4 separate regions of the Homo sapiens genome follow, and regions 2, 3 and 4 are each linked to region 1. Evidence: promoter capture Hi-C in human tissues and cell types (Jung and others, 2019). All regions are on one chromosome and are shown on one strand. Each heading gives the region's core, a stretch centred on a gene start or on the middle of the fragment in contact. The rest is flanking DNA. Distances are from core to core; before and after follow the strand shown.

What was found. Contacts are between HindIII fragments. The study calls those that stand out against the background at their distance.
Region 2: a contact is called between a fragment that was not itself captured here and the fragment with the promoter of ZNF365 in region 1, in 1 of the 25 tissues and cell types used here (spleen).
Region 3: a contact is called between a fragment that was not itself captured here and the fragment with the promoter of ZNF365 in region 1, in 1 of the 25 tissues and cell types used here (dorsolateral prefrontal cortex).
Region 4: a contact is called between a fragment that was not itself captured here and the fragment with the promoter of ZNF365 in region 1, in 4 of the 25 tissues and cell types used here (IMR-90 fibroblasts, aorta, hippocampus and 1 more).

What each region holds. Positions count from the first base shown.
Region 1 is chr10:62,372,480-62,376,161 of GRCh38, reverse strand. ZNF365 (zinc finger protein 365) reads right to left here and starts at 1,793. Exons shown (of 5, transcript NM_014951.3): 1 at 1,704-1,793. It overlaps LOC283045 (a long non-coding RNA gene), which reads left to right and starts at 1,035. Exons shown (of 4, transcript NR_104162.1): 1 at 1,035-1,291. The HindIII fragment of the contact is 5,251 bases long and covers 1-3,682 here.
Region 2 is chr10:63,761,190-63,764,871 of GRCh38, reverse strand. No RefSeq gene overlaps it. Among named protein-coding and RNA genes, the nearest start is that of REEP3, 240 kb to the right of the region's middle. The HindIII fragment of the contact is 3,122 bases long and covers 33-3,154 here.
Region 3 is chr10:61,014,693-61,018,374 of GRCh38, reverse strand. LINC00845 (long intergenic non-protein coding RNA 845) reads right to left here and starts at 2,100. Exons shown (of 2, transcript NR_108052.1): 1 at 2,034-2,100. The HindIII fragment of the contact is 4,801 bases long and covers 1-3,682 here.
Region 4 is chr10:63,719,147-63,722,828 of GRCh38, reverse strand. No RefSeq gene overlaps it. Among named protein-coding and RNA genes, the nearest start is that of REEP3, 200 kb to the right of the region's middle. The HindIII fragment of the contact is 3,304 bases long and covers 152-3,455 here.

The sequences.
Region 1 (3,682 bases), core at 544-3,043:
TAGTTTACAAGTCGGCTGAAAAACACACTACTAAAATGATTGCTGCTCATCTCCATGACAGCAGAGGCTTTTTGGTTTCAAGTGACTTTTGCACATAATATTTTATGTTGCACTTAAAACCTACAGCCCATGGGCCAAATCCATCCACATCAATTTCTGCATTATTTACTGCTGCCGTATCAATTTCTGTATTATTTATTGTAAACCACAATGGCAGTGGTGAGTAACTGAGACAGAGACTCTATGCTCCTAAAAGCTAAAATATTTACTACCTTTACAGAAAAAGTTTGCCAACTCCTACCTAGAATCAAAAAGGTGGGTAACATTCCCTCTCCACAGAAGAGAACACTGAAGCAAGGAAGTAAAGCCATTAATCCAAGGTCAGATGGAAAGTGGTAGATCCAGAAGTGGAATTCAAGTTTCCTCCCCTCCTGAATTTGGCACACTAAATGCAAAACCGTGCCCCATTTTAAGGATACAATCCGAGATGCGTGAACACAAGAACATATGAAAACTCACATGAATTGTCAAAATGGGTCCTAAGACAGCAAGCTCAGGACCTATCCTCAAGTACAGGAAAGATTACTCAAGCTATGCACAGTGGCATTAAGCCTGCAATCAGCTGAAAATTTTTCACCCTGAAATTTTTGCCTTTTTTTCCTTCAGGTATTGCTGTGATGACATAAACCAAAGTGCTAATCGTAACAATAACAGACCCCATACGTGAGTTTCACTGAAACCTGGGGACCCAATGTGTCAAATACCATTTGGCATAAGTGGGGCCATGGCCAAGATTTTTATTATAATAGAGTGTTCTGGACGGATTTGTCTTGTCTCAGATGCTATTTTATATGACAACCTCTAGGGATGGTCAGTGTGTGAACCAGGTAGGTATCAGCATACTCTCTTAATAACAGGAAGTTCTGGTTTCCTTGTAGGAATGCATTATCTTCACCCTAGCAACAGATGACTGTTGGCAACCCAATTCTGCAAGCAGTGCATATCTTCTATTCCTCCATGAAAGGTTTCTACTTAAATGTAACAAGCATTGGACCCGAAATGAGGGAGCCCAGCTGGGGTCTTTGGGTGAAAAGTGTCCTCAACCTCTTCAAAAGCAGAGGTGCAAATGGTCCCCAGGCAGCGAGGCAGGCAAGGCTTCTAGGTGAAGCCCCCGGCCCCCAGAGAGGGGAACCTCTTCCTGTGATGGGTACACCGGGATGTTTAACCACTGGTTTTCTGGGAACGAGATGCAAACCCTGGCTCAGCATAGGGCCAAAGACGCTGACAAGAGGTAAGGAAAGGGGAAGTCAGGATTCTAAGGGGGCAATGGGAAAAGGGTGGCATTTTGGATGGGGAAATGGGTAATCACACACTCCAGAGCACGCAGGCTTTTATGGGCCCAGAGGAAACCCAGTCCACTGGGCTGATGAAGAGCCCTAAGTGACTCTGCCAGAGAAGGGCAGGCTGGCAATGACCCTGCCCCGGGGTCCCAGCTCTCCCCGCCCCCTCTCCGCTGCGTGCCAGCCCACGGGTGCCAGAGTGGATTCGTGTGCACATGAGTTCCTGCTGGTGGGGGCCGGGAAGCCGGCTCTCCCAACTCCCCGCCATGCTGCGGGCTCGGGGACCCCCTCCCCAGCCCCGGCCACCCCGGCAGGTCCCCTCCGCCGAGCCGCGGGCGCAGATGGCCGGCGGCCGCCTCTTACCCGACTTGTTGCTGCTGCTGCTGCAGCCGCCGCCTCCGGTGCTGATGCTGCGGGAGCGAAGCGGTTTTCAGCAGAGCCGTAAATCAGACTGAGCCGGGCCGGCTCCCACTCCCCGCCGCACCTCCGCGCCGGGACCGGCGGCGTCCAGGGCGGAGCGAGGCGCGGCTAGCCAGCGGGGGCGGCGCTCGCGGGCACCGTGGGGCACCGCGCCGTGGGTGCGGGGGTTCCGGAACGCCGCGGCCCAGGGCTGCCACCTCCGCGGGGAACACCCTTGCTCTGCCCAGCTGGCGGGAGCATCATCTGCCCCCCCGCCACCCAGCCGGGAGCCCGATCCGACTCAGGATTACACTGACATCACTGCGAGAGATGCTGGGATCATTCCCCGGGGGAGGGAAGGAAAGACGCGTGTCAGCCTCGCAGTCGCGGCGCTTTCTGCAGGCCCTGGCAAGCTTTTTTGCACTAGTTTGGGGGGAGCGGGAGAGTGTGGATGAGGATGCAGCATAGCTGGGCATCTTCTTTGAAAATCTACCCGTTGGAAGGTCCGGGTATTTAATTAGGACCTCTTCATCCCAAGCAGCAGGGCGAGAATGTCCCAAAATAACTAACCCAGAGAGTACACTCCAGCCTTCCTAGCCAAGTGTCCTGAGGCTACGTTAACAGGCAGAACTAAATCTAGTAAAGTGCAGGGATTAATGAACAAACAGTTAAAGCAACAAGATCCCTCACCTACACCCCCATTTCTGAGGCGGACGCCCCTTTCCCTGGAGAAAAAATTTGTCCTCCTAAAGAGGGGATGTCCTGAAGAGAAGACGGCAAATCATTCCTTCTGAAGGACTCTGATGTCTCAGCTTGCTGGGCTTTTGCTTTTTTTTTTTTTTTTTTTTTTTTTTAACCTGTTTTGGTTTACCCCTACTGTAACTCCTGAAATGTGAAACCTAGATAAAAGTTACTGCTGGGTTTTCTTGTTCAAAGAAGAGAAGAGATTCTGTTCATCTGTAGACAGTTAATGCATCCTCTTGACTTCTCAGGGTGTCTTTTCTCAAGGCTTGCTGTTACTCATTTCAACACCCGATTTTATTTTAACGGTAAAGAGCTCAACAGTTATCTTAGTTGAAATTTTGTTTTGTTTTTGACAAATGAAAACAAATGAATTGCTTTGTTTTTTCACAAATGAATTATCACATCAAATGCAATGAAGATCCCAAGCTCTGGCATCAGACTTGATTCAAATCCTGGTTCTAGGGCCTGGGTCAAGTAACTAGACTTTTCTGTTCCTTCAATTCCTCATCTATGAAATGAAGATAATCAAGACCTACCTCTTAATATAGCGGTGGATCGAATGTGCTATGATGATGGAGGTAAAAACCCTGCCTGACAGGGACACACACTGATAAAGTCAGCTGTTATCGTTGTTGCTACTTCATTTATAATTATTATTAATTCCATAAAAAAGGGGCCTACACACATTTAAAAAGCAGGAAGGAGAAGAGGAATTAATATGTACTAACTTCTACGTAAATGGAGATAGGCTATTGTGCTGGGGTGTGTTTGCTTTGAAAATATTATATCTCATTGAAGTTACTTTTTGACTCGCTCTCAAGACTATTCCAAGAATCAATTTATTTAGTACAAAATCTTAAAGTCTGAAAGATACACTCATTGGAGTGCCAAGTTATCTCCGTCATCTTGTGAGGTGCCTGCAGGTTAACCTCTTACACCCACTGCCTTCATGGCAAAACATAACAAAAGCATGCTCTGGTCCTCCCTTCCCCCCCGCCCCTTTTTTTTTTTTTTTTTTTTTTTTGAGACGGAGTCTCACTCTGTCTCCCAGGCTGTAGTGGCGCGATATCAGCTCACTGCAACCTCTGCCTCTTGGGTTCAAGCGATTCTCCTGCCTCAGCCTCCCTAGTAGCTGGGATTACAGGTCCCTGCCACCACCCGGCCAATTTTTGTATTTTCAGTAGAGACGGGGTTTTGCC
Region 2 (3,682 bases), core at 344-2,843, 1.4 Mb before region 1:
ATAAATATGACTACAAAACTGCCCTGAGCTGCTACTTTCTGCCTACTCAGTAGCCCTGCTCTGCAGGAGCAGTCATAGAGCTGTAACACTGTCTCTTCGATAAAGCTGTTTCCTTCTACCTCTGGCTTGCCCTTGAGTTCTTTCTTGGACAAAGCCAAGAACCCAGTGGGCTAAACTCCACTTTGGGGCCTGCCTACCCTGCATCAAAGACAGTATCACATTCTGGGCTGAATACTTTTACATTCCCAACCTGTTACCCCAAGGGCCTGATTTAGAGTTCCCTCCACAGGAACTCCTGCTTGTGAATATGCCTCAGAACTGCCCATACCTCAAAGGGAGTCTGTCCAGAGAAGAGGCCACGGTTGGAGAGAAACGTAAAGAAGATAGGGAAGACAGGGAGACAAGGTATTTTCCTCATCCTTCTAAGGCCACTCCTTCACCCTCTTTTTCATCATTCTGTGCTCCTGAGAATCTTCAAAAACACGGCATTGGCTTTTTTCAAACATTTCCCAAGTTGAATGAAATGTCAGTGATCTTTCAATGAAGACCTATTGAAGCAATGTATGCTTTCTATGTGACTTTAGGAAGGGAGGAAAGAGAAGGAACAAAGTGTGTGCTCTAAGTACTACGTATTAAGCTCCATGCTGTCTATTTCTCATAAACAACAAACATAAGGGGCATTCTAATTATATTCTCCACTTTAAAGATGAGGAAACTGAGGCTCTGGGAGCTCTAGCAGCCCTCAATCACTGAGCAGTTGGACCAGGATGAACTCGGAAATCCCAGGTCAACTACCATGTGCTTTCTTTCTGTTTTAGACATGTCTTCCAGGGCCCATCACCAATGTGCTCAGACTCAGCTGCTGAGCAAACTGATGACTCACATTGAGCCTACAATTGCTGCCTTGACTGGGCTCCACCAAACTACCATAGCAATAAAGTATCTCCCTAAACCAAGGCTCAGCAAGGTACAGCCATGGGTCATACCTCACCACCACCTGTTTTTGTAAATAAAGTTTTATTGGGCCACAGCCACCCCCGTTTGTTTACATATTGTCTGACACTTTCACACTACAATGGCAGAGTTGAGTAGTTGCAACAGAGACTATATGGTCTACAAAACCTAAAATATTTACTATGTGGCCCTTACAGAAAAAGCTTGTCAGCTCCTGTCCGAGACCCACATTGGGCTGGCAAATATCTCATTACACCATAGACAATCCTAAAACCACTCTGAGAGGAACAGTAGAATCTTAATCCTTTCAACTAATGCTTCTCTCAATGAATATTTCTCCAATACATGTCTATGTGTCAGTACTTTTTCCACATTAACCATAATCAACTTTTCTAGGATAGGCTATCCTGCCTCAGAACTACCATATTACCTGCTTCAATCTTTATTTTCATGTGGTAATTTCCTGGCTGCCGTTAAGAGTTGGTGTGTGGGCAGTGGTTTCCATTTTTCCAGTATTCAGGGATATTACCTCTCCCACTGTGTGTAGGTTTGGTCGGACCCTCAGTCAAGGTGCCCCGCCCTTTCCCCAACCAAAGATAGGCTTGAGACTCAAAGAGCCCGTTAGGACTCCTTCCTCACAATTTCACATTTTGAGTAGAGTGACTCATAGACAGAAATTTCATTAGAGCTGCTTTATACCTCCAGCCATCCCCTTCCAAGATGCTTGGCTTCTACTGCTCTGCAAATTGCCCATTCCAAGCCTGCGTCTTCAGATTTTTCTTCAGTCCTGTCAATTCTTTTTTAAAGTAAGTTGGCCAAATCACTGTCTGTCACTTATACCCAGATACAGTAGGTCCAGAAAACCCTGCAGGGTAGGAGAATTTGTCTCTAAGGAGTTTGATTCCTTCTGAATAAATTAGGATTAGGAAAGGAAGCTCGTAATTGAGCCTATAAAACTCTAGAAGGCTTTTTAAATTCAATTTCTTAAATGGAAAAACATATATAATAAAAAGAATAGCAATGTCATGTCACAAATTTTTCTGTTCATCTCAATGGTTAAAGTTCAGCAATTTCTGGTTGCTAATGTAATTTTACTTCTCTGGGAGTAGCAGTTTAGTTCTTTGTGACATTTAGTAATGAGCACCATTAGATTGCTCCCTATAGCTTCTACCTGGGGACATTTGCCAGTCTATGTAGGCAAAGGGGCACATGAAGTCTTTTAATGCACCCAACATGCCACTGACAAGATACCAAAGAACAGTTCACCACTTCTGATTTATGACCCTCACACCAGAGGGTGTTGGGGGAGGAGAGGAACCAGAAGACCTAGGAAATCAGTGCAAACAATACAAAGTCTCCAGGCCTCAGCAGATGCACCCATAGCCTCTGGTTCCAACATCAAATGTCTGCCAGGCAGTGAGAAAGCAATGGGCCAGAGGAAATGAAAAATATTTCTGCATGAATAGAACTCTAAGAAGGGACTCTCAAGGTAATTTAATTCACCTACGATCTGATGAAGGAATCCCCTTCACAAAAACCCTTAACAGGTGGATGTCACTAAAGATGTCCAGCTGAATACCTTCAGTGATGGTGAACTCATTACCTTTTGGGCAGCTTGCTTCATTTTTAGACAGCACTATTTGTTGGAAACCTAACAACTCTGATTTGAAAGAAGCCACACAAAACCATGCTGCTCCCTCTTCCCTGTGGCCACCCTTTGCATTGATTTTGAATACAGTCAACATGCCTCACCTAAATCTTCTCAACTCTTGAGCTAACGCCCCCAGATGAACCAAATCATTTTTCACTTGACATGAATGTGACTTTTACTTCTCTGCTTATAAAGGGTATATCATTCAGGTCGTGGCAGGAGTTAGATGATGCACTCCTATTTGGGAACTTGAGTTTAATAAGGGGATCTTTTATAAAAGTGTGAGCAGAGTGTAGAAAAACTAAAAGGGATTGTGCCAAACCCCAGGGGTGTTACCATTCTGTCTTGAAAAAGCAAAGAAAGCAGCAGCACCTGGAGATGGCACAAACTGTGTCAAGAGGGTTGCCTGGTGGGCACTGTGAACTTTATTTACAGGTAGGGCCCTTTCTGGAAAGGGGCTGGTGGAATAAACACCCCTCCCTCACACATCTGCTTGACTCTAATCTGCCAGAGTTCTCCATTGGCCAAATTCAATTGGAAGCTTGAGGGAAAGAAAGCTTATCAACGTAATATACATGAGTTAGACTCCCGAGGCGCAGAGATGGGTGGTGAGTAGATCTGAGGGGCAAATGAGAAATATCCAGCACAGAGGGCATCTCAGGTCTTTGTCTCCCCAACAAGCATTACTTTTGTTCTCGATTTTCTTCTGGGAAACCACTTTTCCCCGATTCTCCTGCCATGGAATTTAAGCCTGGTTGATTACCCCTGTGGCTCTCTAGAGGTCATATGCCTCAGGCCTGCCCAATCAGAGCACCCAAGCCTCTGACCACAGTGATTGGTTCAGAGGCAAACATATAACCCAATTGGAGACAATGAGAAGCAAGTTCTGTACTCCTGCCAGAAGGGGCATGTTCTCCTTTCCTCTGAATTGAAGGTTATTGTCCTAGAGCTGTTAGAAGCCACACTGCCCTGCAAGGGAAGAGCCTGGATAAAAGAAAAATCAACTCAGAGGAAGGCAGAGCCAAACGAGAAGAAAGACTAGGCCCTGACAACATTGTTTGAGTTCCTGGATCCAAT
Region 3 (3,682 bases), core at 701-3,200, 1.4 Mb after region 1:
AATTAACTTGTTAAATAATTCACTAAAATTAACCATTGGTCATGTTGTGAACCCTTTGGTCATGGTTGAAAAGGTTATGTAAGACAGTGATGCTTACAATACAAAATTCTGTGTATAAAATTCCTTACTTGAGCTCAAAGATCCCATTATAAGACCCAGATTGGAGTTACACCAATGCAAAAAGGTAAAATAAGGGAAATGGCAATGTTCTGGTTATTTTTCTACCTAATATTAACTATAAAGATGAATCATAGAAAATTGCTTTTGGTAATAAAAAATAATTAAATAACAGTAATTTCATAAGGCAAACTAATAGTTTGGCTGGGCTTCTTCATGACATAGTCTGAGTTCAGCATAGCATTGCAAGTCTACATCACAGACCAGAATAACTTAAATCTATTCTTGTAAAGGCCATTGCCCAAGTGAAGAGGTTAGACAAAATAGCAAAGAACCAATTTTCTGAAGGAAGCTGAAGAACGTAAGTATAATAACATTATGAAAATGTAGTTGGCTATGTCAAATCTGCCATAAGAATGTATTTTCTTTAAAGCAATCCTTGCACAATCCTTAGACTGTCAATTATCCTCAAGTGGCCAATAATCCAATTCTACTGGTTATAAACTTGTATGCGTGTCAAACCCTCTTTTTGAATAATTTTGAGCTCTGAGCTAAATCCTTTGCTTTAAAAAAAATTAATTTGAGGAATGATAGACATAGCTAGCCTATATATTTCAGGTTCCTAGCTCCTTCCACAGCACATGGAAAACCTCACTTCCCAATGCACTTGCAGTTAGGCAGGACCACGGGGCTGAGTTCTGTCCGGTGAAATGTGAGCAGGGCTGAAAAACTGAAAAGGCCCATATAGCCCCCTTTCTTACTGTAACAATCAAGGAAGCCTTGAATTGAGATTTTGAGTTTACAGAGAAACAAAATCAAAAGACCTTAAATTGCCAAGCCACCTTGTGGAAGACAACTGAAGAATCATTCAAATCCCCTGGGTCTGCATGAGGAAGAAATTAACTTTTATTGTGTAAAGGCATTGAGAGATTGGAGTTGTTTGTTACCTCATAATAACCTAATCTATCCTGACTACAACTAACTTCAAAAACATACAGGGCCCAAACAACTGGTAATTCCTCAAATACTCTGCTTATTACTAGGCTATTAAAGAAATGCATATAAAAAGAATATTGAATGGAACTACAGTAAAATGACATCAGAAATTAGAATATAATCTTTTTAATTTTTTAATTCTTCAAATTTTCTCTACTTTGGAGAGTTGTTTAAAAAATTAAAAACAGAAAATTTAAACATCCCTCCCCACAGCATATGCCCCCTTTCCAGAAAAGTCTTGGATGTGTAGGTATTTGGTTTTGTTTGTTTGTTTTCGTCTTAAGGAAGAGTTAGTTAGGGTTGGAGACTGAAAATTTGCAACTGGGACCTGAGATTTGAGATCTAAAATCTTCAATCCTGTTTTATAAAAATGTGTCTAGAGAGGATTGGATTAAAGCCTTTGGAGAACCAAGCCCTGGAGATATTTTGTTTGGCCCTGATCCCTCTATCTATATGTAATTCAATATGGCAAAGCAAAGTCATAAATATGAGTAAGGAATTCTAACCAAGTTTAGATGTTTTTTCTTATAACTACACTGTTGTTCCTTATTTCTCTTTCTTATTTTTTAAAACATCAAAGATTAAACTGTTTTCAAAAGAGATTTTTTTGTCCATTATTTTGCTATAGCCCTAAGCACTGTGCCTATATAACTTAGAACAAACTACCATCAAGTGATCAAATAAGGTTTGTGTAGTCACTAAATTTCAGTATGAAATTGAGAAGAGTCATATACATATAAAAGAGGATAGTTTACCTCACAGAATAATCAAATTAGGCTCTTCTTAGTTATTTAGAACAAGATAGATAAAATATCCAAAATAGTTTCAAAAATCAACAAACAAAGTAATGTAAGTTTCACCTGTAGAGAATCAGTTTCTAGCCTTGCTTCTGGAGTTTTAAGCCAAATAGAGCTACTCACGTGCAATCCTGCCAATAAAAATGGACTAAATCCCACTAGCAAACACTGTCTTCAGTGTTCTCCCTTTCCTTCATCCTTGCTTCTTGCTCTCACCTACTCTACCCAAATTCTGAACTTTGGATGTTTGCACTTTTGAACTTAAACAAAAAGAATTTGTTCTCTGGTTTTTACGCCCTGGCATGCCTCAGGATTCTCAGTGTAAATGGCCTGCAGCCCATCCTGCTCTGCTACTGTTCTGCAGAAAAACTATTATAGCTACTATTTAGTGAGCAATTGCTATATGCTAGGCATGTGCTGAACACTTAATATATTATCACCTCAAAATAATATCCACCATAGCCTGATTGATGAGTATTTACCATATTATCATGATTGGGGCAGCGAAGAAACTTGAGAAAATTAAATGGCAAGAGACCAGGATTTGATCACAGATCTCAATTCTATACTTTTAACTACTACTTATATCATTTCTGCCACCATATTTTCATTAAAAATATATATTTACCAAGCACCTACTATGTTCTAGGTTCTGTGCTAAATAATGATTATAGAGATGTGAACATATAGACAGGGTCTCTAGTTTCATGGCAATTGCATTTTAATGGAGATTATGTCATAATATGTAAATAAATAAATAATCCCATTTTCAAAATTGGCTTTTAAAAATAGGTTAAAGTGATGTGGAAGGACTGGAGGGGTATGTGGCCACATTAGATGGGTAGGGAGGAAAGGAACATTGAGAAGGAACCAGTCATTTGAAATTTTGGGCTCTGAACATTCCAGAGAGAATTACAAGTTTACAGATGCAAGGTCAAAAATGAGCAAGCTATCTTCAAGAAATGAAAAGTCATCTAGTATCACCAAACTTAGTGATAAGAGAGTAGATAGAGTTAGAGTTGGTCCTACAGGGCCTTGCCAGCTATGCTGAGAGAATTTAATTCTAGGTGCAATGGGAGCCACATTTTAAGGAGGGAAGTGGCATAACTGTAACATAATTTTTTAAGTATAGGTAATGCATCCTTTTTAATAATGGAGAGAGGCGCAAGAAAGATATTAAAGTATAAGGTAAAAAGACCAAAGCATAAAAGCCTAAAAACAAACAGATTTTTGTACCTTTAGCAATCCGTTCTATCCTAGGAAATAATGGAGTAAGTGGGAGACGAAGGATCAGATTTTAATTTACTAATATTTAATGATATTAAGATCTCTGGCTGTCATCTCTTCAAGCTTGGATATCCTCTTAAGGTCAAATACTTGCTCTCATATTGGCACTCTAACATTATGGTTTCAGAATTCCAGGTACTCCCTGCAATAAATTCCAAGGTCTACAGTTTCTACTCACAAAGCATGTTATAGGTGGAAAATGAATACATTACTACCATAAAATAATTTATTAGGCATTGCATATTGAGAAAGCAAAACAGACAGAATCCTTATAATCAAAGACTTATCTTCTTTTATGGAATGAAAAAAGTTGGTGCCCACATGTACAAAATCCACCTGGACAGAGTTTATAGAGATGTCATTTTACTATTCAATGTTTTCTTTTGTAATAAAACTCAGAAGGCATAGTACTGTAAAAATATGTATTTTTTAAACTCTGAGACTTTGTTAATAAGAAAATGAAATGAATCTTCTGCACAATCCAT
Region 4 (3,682 bases), core at 554-3,053, 1.3 Mb before region 1:
TCCCTCCCTCCCTACTGCTAAGCCAAGTGAAGGAGTCCAAGCAAATCAGTCACAGGGACCAGAAATGCCTACGAGAAAGATTTGTATCTCACTTCCTGGCTGGATGTTTACAGAGCCCTGACATCACAGGCCCTGGTGCTGCTTCCAGACCATAGAGAACAACAAGTGTTCTTAGGAGAGCCAAAGAGCATCCACAGGCATTTGCTGGCATCTTTGCCTGGTTTCCATCCATCTCAAGAACGCTGAAGGCAAGAGACTGGCTGGAGCAGCATGCAATTACAGGGTGGGAGAGAGGGCTGATTAGATGGTTAAGCTTTAGGGAGGAAAAGGATGGACAGTGTTTTCCCATTGACCAAGGGAACCTGAAGAGAGTAGCAAGACATGCATCATCTGGAACAGACCCTGACCAAAAGAACTACTGCCTGAAGCCAGGGGTCCCCAGCAGGAAGAAGCTGTGTAGAGTGAAGCCCAGAACATGTGGGGCAAAAGCTGAGAGAAGATTTTCAGAAGCAACTGGAGAATGACCAGAATAGGAGGAACCCCCTGCATCCCCACAGGGTGCCCTGGAGAAGCTCTATGTGAATTCTCAGATTAACAGAGGGAATGAGTCCCAGCCAGTATTATCCATGAGAGAATCACATACAATACCAGCTAAGTACAGTGACACTTTGCTCCTCTTTCTCTGATCTGCATGCTGGATTCTATACTAGAGGAATTAGAAAGCAGGAAAGAGATGAGAAATAGTCAGAAAAACACTGAAAGAACAGTCATGCTCTCCTTCCTCAGAGTCAGAAGTAAGAAGAGTTAAGGAGAGAAGATTCAAGCTATATATGAGATTGGACTAAGTTTTTTTTTGGCTGGGGAGGGCGTTGTTTTGTTTTGTTTTTTTAATACAGGGTCTCACTCTGTCACCCAGGCTGGAGGACAGTGGTGCACTCATAGCTCATTGTAACCTCAATCTCCTGAGCTCAAGTGATCCTCCCACCTCAGCCTCCTAAGTAGCTGGGACTATAGGCATGCACCATCACACCCAGCTAATTTTTTTTTTTAATACAGACAGGGTCTTGCTAGGTTGCTCAGGCTGGTCTCAAACTCCTGGCCTCAAGTGATCCTCCCACTCAGCCTCCCAAAGTAGTGGAGTTACAGGCGTGACCCACCATGCCCAGCCCAGACTAACATTTTTAATACCTGAAAACAGGGGCTAGGCACAGTGGCTCATGCCTGCAATCTCAGCACTTTGGGAGGCCCAGGCAGGAGCCCAGGAATTCAAGACCAGCCTGGGCAACATAGTGGGACCTCATGTGTACCAAATACACACACACACACACACACACACACACACACACACACACACACACACAATTAGCCAGGTATGGTGCATATTCCTGTAGTCCCAGTTGCTCCGGAGACTGAGATTGAGGATCACTTGAGCCCAGGAGGTTAAGGCTGCAGTGAGGCAACAGAGTGAAACCATGTATTAAAAATAAGAAACCATGTATTAAAAATAAGAAACAAACAAACAAGGACTCTTGTTACAGCTGAATGTGAGCCAAAAGCTATGAAATCTACCAGAGATTGAAGTTACAGAGCACAGAAGGGAGATTTAGCATAGTATGGTTGAAAGCAACCAAGGGAGAAAAAGTTGTTTCCCATTTGTACCTCTCAGAATTTAGCCTTGGGCTAAACTCATGTTATGAAGCAGTTACCCAAATCAGGCAAAACATTACTATTTAATAAAGCTTGATGGTGGGTGTAGTCACCAGCCTTCAAGATGGCCCCAAGGATCCCCACCTACTGTTATTCACAAGCTTCTGTAATTCTCTGCCACACAAGGGGACCAGGGCTGGTTTGGTTGATCAATAACATATGAGAGTAAGATTAGATTATTTTAAAAGACTGTGGCTTCCTCTCTGTCTCTCACTCTCTTCCCCTCTCCTCTTGCTCTAGGGGAAGCACGTCCTGTGAAGAGTCCCACATGTCAAGGAACTGAGCTTCTAGCCGACAGCAAGCAAGAAACCAAAACCTGCTAACACGGGTGAGTCTGGAAGCAGATTCTCCAGCTCCAGTTGAGCTTTGAGATGACTGCAGCTTCATCTCACACTTGACTTACCTTGCGAGATACCCTTAGCCAGAACCACCCAGCTAAACCACTCTCTGCTTCCTGACCCTCAGAAATAGTGTGAGATAAATTTTTGCTGTTTAAGCTGCTACATTTTGAGGCGATTTATCCCACAGCAGTAGATAACTATTATAGTGTACACATAAATACTTGATATACAAAAAAAACTCATAATAATTTAAATATATAGCACAAAGTTTTCCCCCACGTTTACCATCTTGAAGCTAAAGTAACAAGAGCTCTTAGGGGTGAGGACATTCAGAGAATTTAGAAACTATCCCTGACTTGGATGAAAGATTCTTATATTCCCCTGAGAGCACACTCATAAAATAAACCAGGATTTAGAAATAAGAAATGCCATGAAATTAGTTCCTCTGAACTCAAATTATTGGAATAATCTATAAAATCAAAGGTCGCTGGTATAGGAGTCAAAGAGTGCCACCTGGGAGTGCCGCTTAATATTGCCATAGATACGGCAGGTAGCTACCAAAACAGATTCAAAAAGCAACACTCCTGCAATGCTCCTGACTGACACTAGATGGCGGTAAAGTTTTATCATGCAGTTAAATTTCAATTAGTCTGGCCAGGGTTAAAATAATTTAATGAGCATAAGGCGAAAAAATTAAAAGAACCCTTACTTAATTACTTAGTAAATACTATTTTTGAATTATTATTTCTAAGCTGGAATTAAAATTGAGTTGCTTATACTGATCTGTGACCTGAAACCATTTTTGAAAGGAGGTGGGTTAAAGTGTATTCATTATTCATTTTATAAAAATGAATAGTTTAATAATTGTAATCACTGCAGTATTAGCATCCATTCAGCTATTCCTCATCTGAAATTTGAGATGGTTTCAGCAGAATTGAGGCCCAGTTTACTTTTGAAAGATTGGTATTTATAAATAAGACTAGGAAAGTACTCGAATAATTGCAGGGCATTTTTCATTTCTCTCCTTCAAATTATTCCCTATTATAAGAGGTTGTCTGGCTTAATAATTAATAGCACAGACCTAGAACCAGACTGTGTAAGCTTAAATCCTAGCCCTACTTTAGATTATACCTCATGATCTACCTTATGAATGAGTCACAAATGAATTCATACACATAAAGTACTAGAAACAATACTTTTTCTTTAGAGATTCTATTTAAATATTAACCATTATTATCACTTCACATAAGTTCCCTGAGTCTGAGATAGAGCATGCTATGGAAATATACAGTAAAAACTGAAGCATGAAATCTAGGTCAATTTCCCAATGTCACACAATCAGCAGAATCAAAGTCCACAGATAAAAACAGACGAACACTACCACTTGGAATTGCCCTTTGCTATTGACATAGAGGGTCTGCTTCCAAAAACGACGAGTAAACTAGGAGTAGAACACAAACCTTCCAAATCACAAGCCAGTGACCTGTCCACTGCACCATGACAAACCAGGCTGATTTATTGACTGAAGAAACTCCTAAAAGACAAGTATTTGACAATATTGGCTGCTAGTTAAATGGCAGGTGAAATTCTAAAGTATTAACAGACACTTCTGTCCATTTACTGCATTCTGTTTA